Linked DNA regions of Homo sapiens: regions 1, 2 and 3 are each linked to region 4. Evidence: promoter capture Hi-C in 16 types of primary human blood cells and fetal thymus (Javierre and others, 2016). All regions are on one chromosome and are shown on one strand. Each heading gives the region's core, a stretch centred on a gene start or on the middle of the fragment in contact. The rest is flanking DNA. Distances are from core to core; before and after follow the strand shown. Region 1 has its middle 23 kb from the start of LOXL2. Region 2 has its middle 12 kb from the start of TNFRSF10B. Region 3 has its middle 4.1 kb from the start of LOXL2. Region 4 holds the start of CHMP7 (charged multivesicular body protein 7).

Evidence for each region. The method cuts DNA at HindIII sites, captures the fragments that hold promoters and counts their contacts. A CHiCAGO score of 5 or more calls a contact.
Region 1: a contact is called between a fragment that was not itself captured here and the fragment with the promoter of CHMP7 in region 4, in 1 of 17 cell types (M1 macrophages). The highest score is 5.4, in M1 macrophages.
Region 2: a contact is called between a fragment that was not itself captured here and the fragment with the promoter of CHMP7 in region 4, in 3 of 17 cell types (non-activated CD4 T cells, naive CD8 T cells and total CD8 T cells). The highest score is 6.7, in non-activated CD4 T cells.
Region 3: a fragment that was not itself captured here is called in contact with the fragment with the promoter of CHMP7 in region 4 in 4 of 17 cell types (M0 macrophages, M2 macrophages, endothelial precursors and 1 more); the score reaches 7.1 in M0 macrophages.

Annotation. Positions count from the first base shown.
Region 1 is chr8:23,424,978-23,428,324 of GRCh38, forward strand. No RefSeq gene overlaps it. Among named protein-coding and RNA genes, the nearest start is that of LOXL2, 23 kb to the left of the region's middle. The HindIII fragment of the contact is 861 bases long and covers 901-1,761 here.
Region 2 is chr8:23,079,313-23,082,703 of GRCh38, forward strand. It overlaps the pseudogene TNFRSF10B-AS1. Among named protein-coding and RNA genes, the nearest start is that of TNFRSF10B, 12 kb to the left of the region's middle. The HindIII fragment of the contact is 3,866 bases long and covers 155-3,391 here.
Region 3 is chr8:23,406,532-23,409,923 of GRCh38, forward strand. No RefSeq gene overlaps it. Among named protein-coding and RNA genes, the nearest start is that of LOXL2, 4.1 kb to the left of the region's middle. The HindIII fragment of the contact is 1,989 bases long and covers 867-2,855 here.
Region 4 is chr8:23,241,958-23,245,017 of GRCh38, forward strand. It overlaps CHMP7 (charged multivesicular body protein 7), which reads left to right and starts at 1,680. Exons shown (of 11, transcript NM_152272.5): 1 at 1,680-1,887. RefSeq lists an enhancer at 1,372-1,873. The HindIII fragment of the contact is 15,350 bases long and covers 1-3,060 here.

The DNA.
Region 1 (3,347 bases), core at 81-2,580, 180 kb after region 4:
TAAGAGCCACCCGCTTGCTGTTCATAGTTCTAGGTCTGTCTCTCATGGCTATACAGTATTCCATGGTACGCACCTGCCGCCTTTGACTTGTCCAAGACCTTGCTTGCCTCCATCAACACAGTCACTCAGAATCATTACCAAGGAATCCTTCCGTAAGTCCATTCATGGACCCAGGTAGAAATCTCTCCGGAGAGCCACGCGCAAGTGGCTCTCTGAATCAAAGGGCACACACGCTGCTAACTTTTAAGCTGCCAGCTTCCCTTCTGGGGTACGCATTGCAGTTTGCACCACCACCAGCAATATTGAAGTCCAGGCCCCGCATCACTGCCAGCACTTGAAGTCTGGCAATTCTGAGGGGCATAAGGTAGTGGGTCTTAATTTACATTTGCATTTCTTCAGCTTAGTTTATCTCTTGTTCACCATTTGGGTTTCCCCTGCTGTGAATCACCTATTAATATCCATGGCCGGTTTTTTCTTTTGGATTTCCTTTTTCTTGTTGTTTTGCATGAAACTTTGTACATTTTAATCCCTTTTCAATTTCAGTCACTGCAAATACCTTCTTAGTCTGCCATCTGTTAGCTTTGATGAACAGAAAGTCTTACTTTAGATGTAGTCAAATCCATCCTTTCCCCCTTACATTTGGTGCTTCTTGTGAGGTTTAAAAAGTGACTTTTAAGGACAACTTAGAATGAAAAACAATCTGAAGCTATGTTTAGAATAAAATAAATATGCAGGAATTATTTTCTGTAAGCAGGGCTTCAGAAAATATCAATCTCACTTTGCCTCTATTATTACTACCTAATTCTGGGATTTCTTTTTCCTTTCTGTCAAGGCTGAACAGGTTGCGAAAAAAGGAAACCACTTGAGGTAAACTTGGTTTTCCTAAGTTTTTCTAAATAAAGCTTTAAAATGCAACACTCCCTTAACAAACTCTGGTGGAGGGAAGTGAACAGAGAACTGAGACTCAGAGGCCTGGGTTCCATCCCGCCCTTCACGGCACATTGCATATGGTTTTAAAACCACACACAACTCTGCACATCTGGAAAGAACAGCAAAAATTGAGAATAAAATATATATATATTTTAGACAGAGTCTTGCTCTGTCGCCTAGACTGGAGTGCAGTAGCACAATCTTGGCTCACTGCAAACTCCGCCTCCTGGGTTCAAGTGATTCTCCTGCCTCAGCCTCCTGAGTAGCTGGGACTACAGGCGCCCGCCACCTTGCCCAGCTAATTTTTGTATTTTTAGTAGAGACAGGGTTTCACTATGTTGGCCAGGCTGGTCTCAAACTCCTGACCTCGTGATCCGCCTGCCTTGGCCTCTCAAAGTGCTGGGATTACAGGCGTAAGCCACTGCACCCGGCCTAGAATAGATTTTAAAAGATTTCTTTCATAAATTTTAGAAACCTAAAGAGGTGATTTGTGAAAGAAACCAGATTTTCATTAGTTTACAAATATTTACAAAATACTATGTACTACTCGGTGTCTTCTTTACTGGATTATAAATGTAGAAACATGGAAAGTAAACACAGGACCTGTCATGGTCCATGTTCAAGGACATTTGGGCCAGAAATAGATACACTGATGGAAAACAGGGCCACGGGAGGTGGGAGAGAATTTAAACGTGTAATTTGAACATTAAACAGCCAGGAACTTCCAGAAAATTCTCTTGTGCTGCCATGACCAGTATCAAAGAACTTTACAAGGCTGAGGAGAGCCCACCAAATGTTTTAAGTGTTTTGAGTCTAAAATCTGGGTATTAAAGCTTGGGCCAAGTGGGAGAAAAAGCAATCTTAGGAAAAGAAAGTGCTAAGTCTGGTCCCTGGAGTTTAAGGCTTGTGTAATGACAGGCAAGAATAAGGTGATTAGGCCCGGTGCGGTGACTCACGCCTGTAATCCTAGCACTTTGGGAGGCCGAGGCAGGTGGATCACGAGGTCAGGAGATCGAGACCATCCTGGCTAACACGGTGAAACCCCGTCTCTATTAAAAATACAAAAAATTAGCTGGGTGTGGTGGCAGGCGCCTGTAGTCCCAGCTACTAGGGAGGCTGAGGCAGGAGAATGGCGTGAACCCGGGAGGCGGAGCTTGCAGTGAGCCGAGATCGCGCCACTGCACTCCAGCCTGGGCGACAGAGTGAGACTCCGTCTCAAAAAAAAAAAAAAAAAAAAAAAAAGATGATTAATATTTTCAGAACTGTCCACTTCAAACTCTGATTCTCATGAAGGCAAAAAGGGTGAAAGGTAGTATTCACACTCCCAATTAGAAGCCTGAGAGAACAGCAAGAACAGCTGGCACAAGGATGTTGTAGAAATAACACAAGAGAAGACCCACACTGGGGATTCTAAAGCTGCTCCTTTGTGTTTCGATGGCGTTGCCACCGACAAACCTTTCCCCTTCCAGTCACACAGGGGCCACTGGAATCCCAATCCCTTGACAAAACACCAGATGCCTGAGATGTTTATTTGATGACTGGTTGAACGGGAGGAAAAAAACTCCTTTTCTCTCGTCTTTGGAGTTCACCTACTTAAACAAGAAGTCTGTCTTTTGTGCCTGTCACCATCGTGTTCTGTGAGGAGGTTTCAGTCCTTTACTCAAGGCAGAAATCCTTCTTAAGCCTTGATTTTCTTGTTTGGGCCTCTTACATGAAACAGACACAGGCTGTTGACAGAAATGTTGAAGTGGCCATGAAGTCTGGAGCCCGGATGTCGTTCACCTGCCAAACAGTGTCAAGGGTGAAAGGCAAAGATCGAAGGCCAAAGTGCCCCTAGCGTCCCCTGCAGCAGGTCTCAGTCAACCTTAATAGATCTATTAATAGAAAGAGGCTGGACTGCGCAAGGGCAGGGGGACTAGCCTGGCTAAAAGCAAAATAAAACACATCAACAGACACACTCTTCTTTTGTTAGGAGGAGGTGGGATCACAGGCCCACATGCTCCCAGACGAGGTGGGGCCAGGAAGACTCTCACAGGATTGCCTTTCATGCTGCCACGGATGGATGCTCCAGGCAGATCCACTCTGCCAAGGCGTGCTTTGGGATTAGCCGGGCACTCCTTTGTCTTTTCATGACGTTTCCAAAAGAAGACACTGTGACTCTGACAGAGGTGACCTGCACCTCACGACCCCCTCTGTGCAAACCATTAGCATTTCCGGATCTCAAAAAAACCAAAAAAACCCACAGGGCACATGCCAATTCATAGGACAAATGGAAACAGACTGAAAACAAAAACACAGAACCATGGCTTTTCAGACCTGTCAACATGGTTAGTGTTGGAAATAGGCACTGACTTCTCTTCCACCAAGTGGAATAAAAATTTAGATGTCTTTTAACATCTTAGATATTTTAACGTATT
Region 2 (3,391 bases), core at 838-3,337, 160 kb before region 4:
GCCCATTCAGTATGATGTTGGCTATGGATTTGTCATAGATGGCTCTTATTATTTTAAGGCATGTTCCAATGGGAACTTTCTAATGTGTTTTAATATCCAAGAGAGCAAACACCTCTTCCGTACTTTTTCAAAATTTATTATTTTACCCAGATAAAGCTTATAATTGTAAGATTTCTTCCATTCTCCCCTTCCAAAGAAAATCAGTGGCATTTTTATCAATTTATCTTAAAACTAAAAATTAATCTAGAAATACTTAATATCTTATCAATATTCAGTATTTCCTTATCCATTTTGAAGTCAAGTATTTTATTATAACTGAGTTGTGATTTGTTTTCCTCTTCAGATAAATTTATTCCTATTTCTTTTCATGGCTGTTTGGTATTTTGTAATCGTTATAAGTTGCATAGCCTTGTAATTCTGTTTGCTAATTTATTGCATCTACTATGTTTTTAACATTCCTTCAGACATACATTTATATTTCCATATCATAGTTTCATTCTTAGGGTTGTTTGTTTCTGTTTGTTTGTTTTTGACAGAGTCTGGCTGTGTCGCCCAGGCTGGAGTGCAGTGGTGCAATCTCGGCTCACTGCAACCTCCGCCTCCTGAGTTCAAGCGATTCTCCTGCCTCAGCCTCCCGAGTAACTGGGACTACAGGCATGTGCCACCATGCCTGGCTAGTTTTTTTTTTTTTTTTTTGTATTTTTAGTAGAGACGGGGTTTCACCGTGTTAGCAAGGATGGTCTCAATCTCCTGACCTCGTGATCCACCTGCTTCGGCCTCCCAAAGTGCTGGGATTACAGGCGTGAGCCACTGTGCCTGGTCGGCCCCATTCTTAGGGTTTTTAAGTGACATTGAATATAATGATTATTGTGTCTGCCCACTTCCAAGAATCTTGCCTCATTTTTGTTTTCCATCTTGTTGCACAGGCCAGAAATTTCAGAACCATGTTCAGCTGCGCTTAGGGAAGGCAGGTGTTTGGGTCCTGATTTGATTTCCGGGGAAGGCCTCTAACATGCCACCTTTAGGAATGGTGTTCACTTTTGGTTTCATATAGAAAGAAATTCACATCATCAAGAATGCAGCCTCCTATTCTAAAGGGGTTCCAAAAATTCAGAATTGGTGTTTAATTTCACCAAATGTCTTTTCAGCCTCCATAGAGACTGATGCTTTATTTCCTTATTTAGATTGTTGATATGGTACAGTATTGATGATCAAAGAACTTTTGGAGTCTTGGAATAAATTCTTTTGTTAGATGTTTCCTGAGCGCTCTCATACATAGTCCTCTGTTGAGACTTCTGTTGGTAAAAATTCTGTAATGAAGTGATTCTCTCCTGTGAGGGTGGGTGGAAATTGATGAGATGGGGAAGAAAGGGACTTTCTGGGGTGTGGCAATGTTCTATGTCTTGATCATAGGATTATTACACAGGTGTATACAGTAGTCAAAGTTGGGCAGAACACTTATGAAGTGAGCATTTACTCCCTGTCACTTTTGTTTCAATGAGTCACCAGCACACAGAGCCCAAGAGCTATGCAGGACCAGAGGTTTGTCTCCATCTCCACAGAGACCTGAGAGGGGAAGCTCTGTAGGTCTCTTGCTGGCTGGTGATCGGGGTCAGTACTAGACTGCAGGATTCCTGACTCTGACCAGAGCATTCCCCACTGTGTGTTACAGGAACAGGCAAAAGCTGAAAGGGTCATGGGAGGAGGCTGCTGGTTCCAGTGAATGGCGCTGACCCCACTGAGAGTAAGTGTTTTGTGCCTGGAGATGTAGAAGGAATGGAGGCAATAGGGACGATGTCCTAACTGCTAGCCCCATAGCTGAGAGTGCTCTTCTGGAGCATTCCCTGCTGGAAGTAGGGGGTCCTATGCCGATCCTGTGCTGATGATCTTTGGAGCATGAAGACCCTAAATCCCTCTCTTTCCTCTTCTTCTCAGTCAACACCTTGCTGGAGGCCTCAAACACTGAAAGAAAGACATGCAAAGGAAATAATTCAGGACCAACTGGTGGGCTCCAAAAATCTCTTCTATGAGGAAGGTGAATGCAGGCTCTGCTACGTCCTGCCTGTGAAAGAATCCCTTCAGGAAACCAGAGCTTCCCTCGTTTACCTTTTCTCCTACAAAGGGAAGCAGCCTGGAAGAAAGAGTCCAGTACTTGACCCATGCCTCAACAAACTCTGCTATCAATATGGTGCAGCTTACCAAAGGTCCTAGAACTTTGTCAACGCACTTGGAGTAATTTTTATGAAATATTGTGTGTGATAAGCAAACTGTGGAAATTTATATAAGATGTTGGTGGCATAGAGTTATACGATTGTGTATTAAGGGTAGTTTTAGGATGTCATTTTTTTTTCAGTTCATCATGACAGAAGTCCTTTTCATGAGAGAAGTCACATGAGAAAAAACTTTCTTATATTGTAAGCTCCTTCTATAGTGGTATGTGCATTTAATGACATCCAACTAAAGATGGTGTAATACCACGGTGGTTTGACTTAGAGTTTTTTAACTTTATATCTGGTTTATCTGGGTATTACATGCGTTTTAAATGTGGATCTTTTCAACTTACGATGAGATTATCAAGACATAGCCCCATGCTAAGTCATGAGCATGTGGACTTATAATGGTTCAATTTAGATTTTTCGGCTTTAAGATAGGATTATTGGGGCTTACCCCCATCTTAAGTAGAGAAACATCTGTATTGTGTAATACTATATGATGTACATTTTTCTGTTTTCCTATTTTCGTGCATGTTGATGTAAGCATGGAAAAATTTTAGGAAATGTATTTATTAGGCTGTTTACATGGGCTGCCTGGTGCAAATCAGCAGTCAAAAATGACTACATACACAACTAGCAATGGGAGGAGAAATCCTCCCTCTGTGGGAGGCACTGACTACATTCCAGTTCTCCCTCCTACGCCCAGAGACTGGACCAGGGTTTGATGACTGGCAACTTCTCAAGGGGCCGGTCTGTCTTAGTTGATGATTTTAGAGGTATATAGAGGTATTTATTTACAAATAAACAAATATTTATTTATAAGTAGATGTTTACATATGCCCAGGATTTTGAAGAGCCTGGTATCTTTGGGAAGCCATGTGTCTGGTCTGTCCTGCTGGGACAGTCATGGGACTGCATCTTCGTCCTTGTCCACAGCAGATGAGGACAGTGAGAATTAGGTTAGATCTGGGACTACAAATAGCTTCTCTTTCAAGTGCCATTACAGCTGAACATTAGTGAATCTTGGGCCTTCTTTGGGCTCAGGGCAGAGCAGGTGTTTATCTGCCCCGGCATCTGCTATGGCATCAAGAGGGAAGAGTGGACGGTGCCTGGGAATGGTGTGAAATGATTGCTGACTCAGGAGTGGATGGGCCCCTCTCGCTTCTGGTGGTCTGTGA
Region 3 (3,392 bases), core at 611-3,110, 160 kb after region 4:
ACCATGCTGGCCGGGCTGTCCTTGAACTCCTGGTTTCAAGTGATCCACCCACCTCTGCCTCCCAAAGTGCTGGGATTACAGACGTGAGCCACTTCACCTGGCCTCTGATTTTTTTTACTATATCATTTTGTGTTAATTTTTCAATGTAATTTTTAATGGTTTTAGACAGTTCTGGTCTGAAATTATTGTGCAATGGAGTCATTTCTCCATTATTGGATATTCAGTTGTTTACAGCTTTTTGCTAGTGTAAATTACGCCATGACAATTACCCCTGTGAAAGTAATATTTATTGATTGGGTACAGTGTGGTTCCTGCTAATTGTTACAGATGAGAAAGCCCTGGCTCAGAGAAGTGATTTTCCCAGCGTCACAGAGGCAGGGAATGGCCGAGCTGGGAGAACCAAAAGGAGCTTGACTCGTCCAGCAAGTATTAGTGGCCCACACTGGAGGCCTCAGTAAGTCCATCTCTGCCTTACCATGTCCTCACTTCCAAGAGGAAATGAGTAGAGTATCTGAAGTTTGCACTGAGTGTTTTATTGATGCCCTTTTGTTGAATTGAAATCAAGACCTAGGAGACTACTTCAGGACAACAGTAGACCCTTGTCCCAGATGAAACAAAATGATGGCGGGATGCCTTATGTCTGTAAGTCTGGATACACCTCCCACCCTGCCACCTCCACCACTCAGGTCCTGCACTGCTGCAGAGGCAGAGTCGTACAGTAGGTTCAGGGCATGCTTGTGCAGTCAGGGGGCCTGGGTTCAAATCTTGGCTCCACCATTAACTGATGTGAACTCCCTTTTCCTTCACATGCTTCATCTGTAAGAAGCGCCTCAAAATGCTCCTAAGAGGTTGAGTGGAGTGGCTTAAGCTTGTAATCTCAGCACTGTGGGAGGCCAAGGTGGGTGGGTTGCTTGAGTCCAGGAGTTTGAGACCAGCCTGGGCAACATGGCAAAACCCTGTCTCTACAAAAAATATAAAAATTAGCCAGGCGTGGTGGTATGGGCTTGTAGTCCTAGCTACTTGGGGCGCTGAGGCAGGAGGATCACTTGAGCCCAGGAAGTCAAGGCTGCATTTGAACTGAGATCATGCCACTGCACTCCAGCCCGGGTGACAAAGCGGTATCTGTTAAAAAAAAAAAAAAAGCTCCAAAGGAGTAAAAGGACTGAATGGGCTCAGACTCAGAACAGTCCCTCGTATGGTACTTGGACAATAAATGTTGCGTTGTGAGGAGGGCATCTTTGAGGAGGGCACAGTGACTCCTTGTCCCTCAGGGCTTCAGACCCCACACAGGGAGAGGGAAGGCAACACCTCCTGTCCACCCCATCCCCAGGGGTCATGTGAATTACTGCATTAGGATCCATTCCCAGAATGTGATTACTGAGTCAAAGGCTAGAGGCGATTCTTTCTTTTTTTTCCCTTGGCTTTTGCACTCTCTTGCCAAATCACTCTCCTACCAGTCTGGACCGACTTAGATTGAAAGAAGCATAGCATGTCCCAGTAGGCATAGCCTGAGGCTCCAGGGAGGCCCAGCCAATGCTGTAGCCGGTCTGTGCCTTCATGGTGCTTATATGCCAGAGTAGGAGACTGACAAGACACAAAGACACAGAAATGAGGAAATGTGGGAGTCGGTTGGTGACAGAGTGCTACAGAGAAGACTAAAGCTGGTGAGCACAGAAGGTGAAGGAGGCTCAGGTGCTAGTCCAGTAGGGGTGGCCAGGGAAGGCCCGTCTGATGAAGTGGGAAAGTAGGAATAATTTTAGTAGGTATTAGTAATGATTACTTAGATGAATAAAAATGCAGAAACGAGTAGTTAAATTTATAGAACTGCAGAAGAGGCTCCATATGGTCTATTTGTTGAATTAAATGGGGAACCAATCAACCAACCAAACAAACATTGATCCAGCCATCTGGGAAGGTGATTTGGAAATATTGTCACGTGCCGCATAATGCCATTTCAGTCAATGATGGTCCAGGTATATGTTGGTGGTCCCGTATCACTTGGTGGTCTCATAATGTTATAATAGAGCTGAAAAATTTCTCTCTCCTATTGACGCCATAGCTGTTGTGACATTGTCATGCAATAAATTATTCATGTGTTTGTAGTGATGCTGGTGTAAACAACATACAAGCTGCCAGTCATATGACAGTCTAGCACATGTCACTACGTATAGTACATAATAATTGATAATGATAATAAATCACTATGGTACTGGCTTATATATTTACTATACTATACTTTTAATTGTTATTTTAGGGTGTACTTTTACTTATTAAAAAAAAAAAAAAGCTGTCCGGGTGCAGTGGCTCATGCCTGTTATCCCATCACTTTGGGAGGCCAAGGCAAGCGGATGACCTGTGGTCAGGAGTTCGAGACCAGCCTGGCCAATACGGTGAAACCCTGTCTCTACTAAAAAATATAAAAATTAGCCCAGGCATGGTGGCGGGCGCCTGTAATCCCAGTTACTTGGGAGGCTGAGGTGGGAGAATCACTTGAACCCGGGAGGTGGAGGTTGTAGTGAGACGAGATTGTGCCACTGCACTCCAGCCTGGGTGACAGAGTGAGACTCCATCTCAAAAAAAAAAAAAACAAAAAAAAACAAGCCTAACTGTAAAACATCCTCAGTCAGGTGCTTCAGGAAGTATCCAGAAGAAGGCATTGTTATCCTAGGAGATGACAGCTCCATGTCTGTTAACGCCCCTGAAGACCTTCCTGGACCAAGATGTGGAGGTGGAGGACTGACATTGATGATCCTGACCCTGTGCGGGCCTAGGCTAATGTGCGTGTTTGTGTCTTCGTCTTTAACAAAAAAGTTTACAACACAGACAAAAGTAAATAATTTTTAAAATAGAAAAAAAGCTTACAGAATACTAAAGAAATTTAAAAATTTGGTACAGCTGTACAAAGTGTTTGTGTTTGAAGCTAAGTGTTATTACAAGAGTCAAAAAATGTTTTAAAAACTAAAAAGTTTATAAAGTAAAAGAGTTACAGTAAGCTCAGGCTAATTTATTATTGAAAAAATAAGTATTATGTATAAATTGAGTGTAGCCTAAGTGTGCAGTGTTTATAAAGCCCACAGCAGTGTACAGTGTACATTCACTCACCACGCACTCCCTGACTCAGCCAAAGCAACTTCCAGTCCTGCAAGCTCCCTTCATGGGAAATGCCTTCCCTAAACCGGTCTATCTTTTTTGTTTGTTCTTTGTTTTTTGTTTTTGAGACGGAGTCTGGCTCTGTTGCCCAGGCTGCAGTGACGCGATCTTCGCTCACTGCAAGCTCCATCTCCCAGGTTCACCCCATTCTCCTGTCTCAGCCTCCGGAGTAGCTGGGACTACAGGCGCCCGCCACCACGTCCGGCTAATTTTTAGTATTTTTAGTAGAGACGAGGTTTCAC
Region 4 (3,060 bases), core at 430-2,929:
ATCCGCCCGCCTGGGCCTCCCAAAGTCCTGGGATTACAGGCATGAGCCACTGCACCCAGCCCAAGATTTTTTATTTTTAAAGACACTCAATAGTTAAAAGTCAACTTAATTAAAAGCTAATATTTAAAATGTATGTGTATGTGTATGTGTGCATAAGTGCATGTTCATATTTAAAAGGCCTTCATGGTTTTGTTTTTGTTTTTCTCTGCTAGGACCTTGTCTTTTTTTGAGCAAAAACTTTTTTTGTTCTCAATTGACTCAATTCTGTTTCCACTCGATTTTTTTTTTTTTTTTTACTAAAATAGTTATTGCAACAGAGGCTACTCTTGGGTTTTTAAGAAAGAGTATAGTTTAGACACTTAGAAATGCTTTGTTTACAAAAATGTTTTAAGTGCACTGTAAAAGCATCATGTGGTCTAGCCTCATAATAATTCTCCCTTTTTGGAGACCCAGGATTCAGTGTGGGCTCTGCCCAGAGCTCAGAGATCCAGTTAAAAAAGAATTGGTAGTCCCTATCTAAATAACAGTGGTCTCCTTATACAATCCAGTGATAAATTTCTATAATTTTATGTTCAATTGGCAATTAAATCTGTTTTAATTTCCCTCTAGCTCACAGAATTTCTCTTCAGACCTTATAATGTAAATTTTGCTATCTGACTTTCACCTGAGTTGTTTCCTTTAATATGCAAATTTAAGACTATTTAGCTGACTACTGCCTAGCACTGTGAAACAGGTTATCAAGAATCTGAAAGTCTAAGATAAAGAAAAAAGGTTTTTATGAATCTGTAAGATGTACTTCTTCTATCAGCATGCCTAATACATCTATGTATTTATATGTTATGTATACAATGTTGCACTCCTGAAAATATATCAAAGAGCTCTAATTAATTGTCTTAAAAAATAAAAGCATTTACATCAAATACTTTATTAGAAAAAGGAAAGACTAGTCAAATGCTTTTTCAAGTTATGTGACTTAAGTAAAATCTTTAATAAATAAGCTATCTTTAAAATTATTGGTAAAGTAATATTAGAAATGTCTTAGGAATTGCCAGCATACATTTTTATTTGCGTTTATTAATCAAGCAATTTCATACTTAACCCTGCCAAATACTATTAGGTGTCAAAATTTGGCACAGGCTATAAACCCAGCCCAAGACAGAATGATCTCTGCTCGTGTAACCATTAATAAATAAGACATTGATACTGGTTTAATGAAAATAGCTACATCTTGATTTAGTAAAATTACCATAACTTCTAATCTTGTGGCAGTCTAGGCAGTCTAGTCCACAGGCAGTAAGGAGTTTTGTTTTGGGAAAGGACTGTTATACTTTGTTTCAAAGTTAAACTATAAGTAAACTTGCATGGGAAGAGAATGTTTAATTTTGTGAAAAACGACCAAACTGTCTTCCAAAGTAGCTCTTAGAGACAACCTGTCCACAGAAGAACGCAGCAAGCCCCCTCCCCTAAATGCCCTGCAGCTTATTTCTTCTGAGATGCTGCCCCTACTTCACGTTACCAGAACTTAGGTACAGCTGTATCCACCCCCAGGCCAAACCACATCCTGGTACTCTAAGCCAGGTGGGGCAAGAAGTGACAAACAACTGCAGGATGTAGACTAACCTCAGAAAGCCCCTAGGCCCTCAAAGCCCTATATAAGTCCCTCACCTTAAACACCCTGGGCTGCCTCCTCTGACTGTTATGCAGCAGGCCGGCAGGTCAATAAACTTGCTTGCCTGACTTTGAGTATACTCGTCTTTTCTCTTGGCCAACCTTACGGTAGCTGTACCAGTTTGCATTTCCACCAGCAATGAATGAGAGTTCCTGTTGCTCTGCATCCTCACCAGCATTTGGTGTGGTCAGTATTTTGGATTTTCACCATTCTAATAGGTGTGTAGTAGTATGCTATTCTTGTCTAATTTGCTGTTCCCCAATGACATATGATGTTGGGCATATTATCATATACTTATTTGCCGTTGGTAGATCTTCTTTGGTGAGAGGTCTGCTCAGATCTTTTATCCATGTTTTAACTGGGTTATTCTTTTTCTTTTTTTTTTGAGTCTTAAGAGTTCCTCGTGTGTTTTGGATAACAGTCCTTTATCAGAGATGTCTTTTGCAAATAGTTTCTACCAGTCTGTGGCTTATCTTCACATTCTCTTCACAGTGTCTTTCAGAAAGCAAATAATAATAATAATAATAATTACGTCTAATTTATCAATTATTTCTTTCATGGATTATGCTTTTTGTGTTGTATCTAAAAAGTAATCATGATGCCCAAGGTCATCTAGATGTTTTGTCTTCTAGGAGTTTTATTGTTTTGTGTTTTTACATTTAAGTCCATGATCCATTTGAGCTGGCTTTTGTGAATGGTGTAAGATCTGTACCTGGATTTGTTTTTGTTTTTGCATGTAGGTGTACAGTTGTTCCAGTGCTCATTGTTGAAAAGACTCTTTGAACCATTGTATTGCCTTTCTTTTTTCGAAAGGTCAGTTGACTGTATTTACATGTGCCTATTTCTGGGATTCCTATTCTGTTCCATTTATCTATTTGTTTATTCTTTAACTAATACCACACTATCTTGATTACTGTTGATTTATAGTAATTCTTGAAGTTGGGTTGTATCCGTCCTCTGACTTATTTGTTCAATATTGTGTTGGCTCTTCTGGGTCTTTTGCCTTTCCACATAAACTTTAGAATTAGTTTGTTGATATCCACAAAATAACTAGCCATGATTTTCACTGGGATTTCACTGGATCTACAGATCAATTTGGGAAGAATTGATATCTTGATAATATTGAGTTTTCCTGTCCATGAATATAAAATGCCTCTGTATTTATTTAGTCCTTCATAGATTTCTTTCATCAGAATTTTGTAGTTTTCCTTATGTAGAATTTGTACATACCGTGTTAGATTTATACCTAAGTTTTATAGGGGGGTGCTAATGTAAATGGTATTGCATTTTTAATTTCATATTCCACTTGATCATTATAGGTATATGGGAATTGACTTTTATACATTAACTTTGTATCTGCAATCTTGTTCTCATTGCCTCTTAGTTCCAGG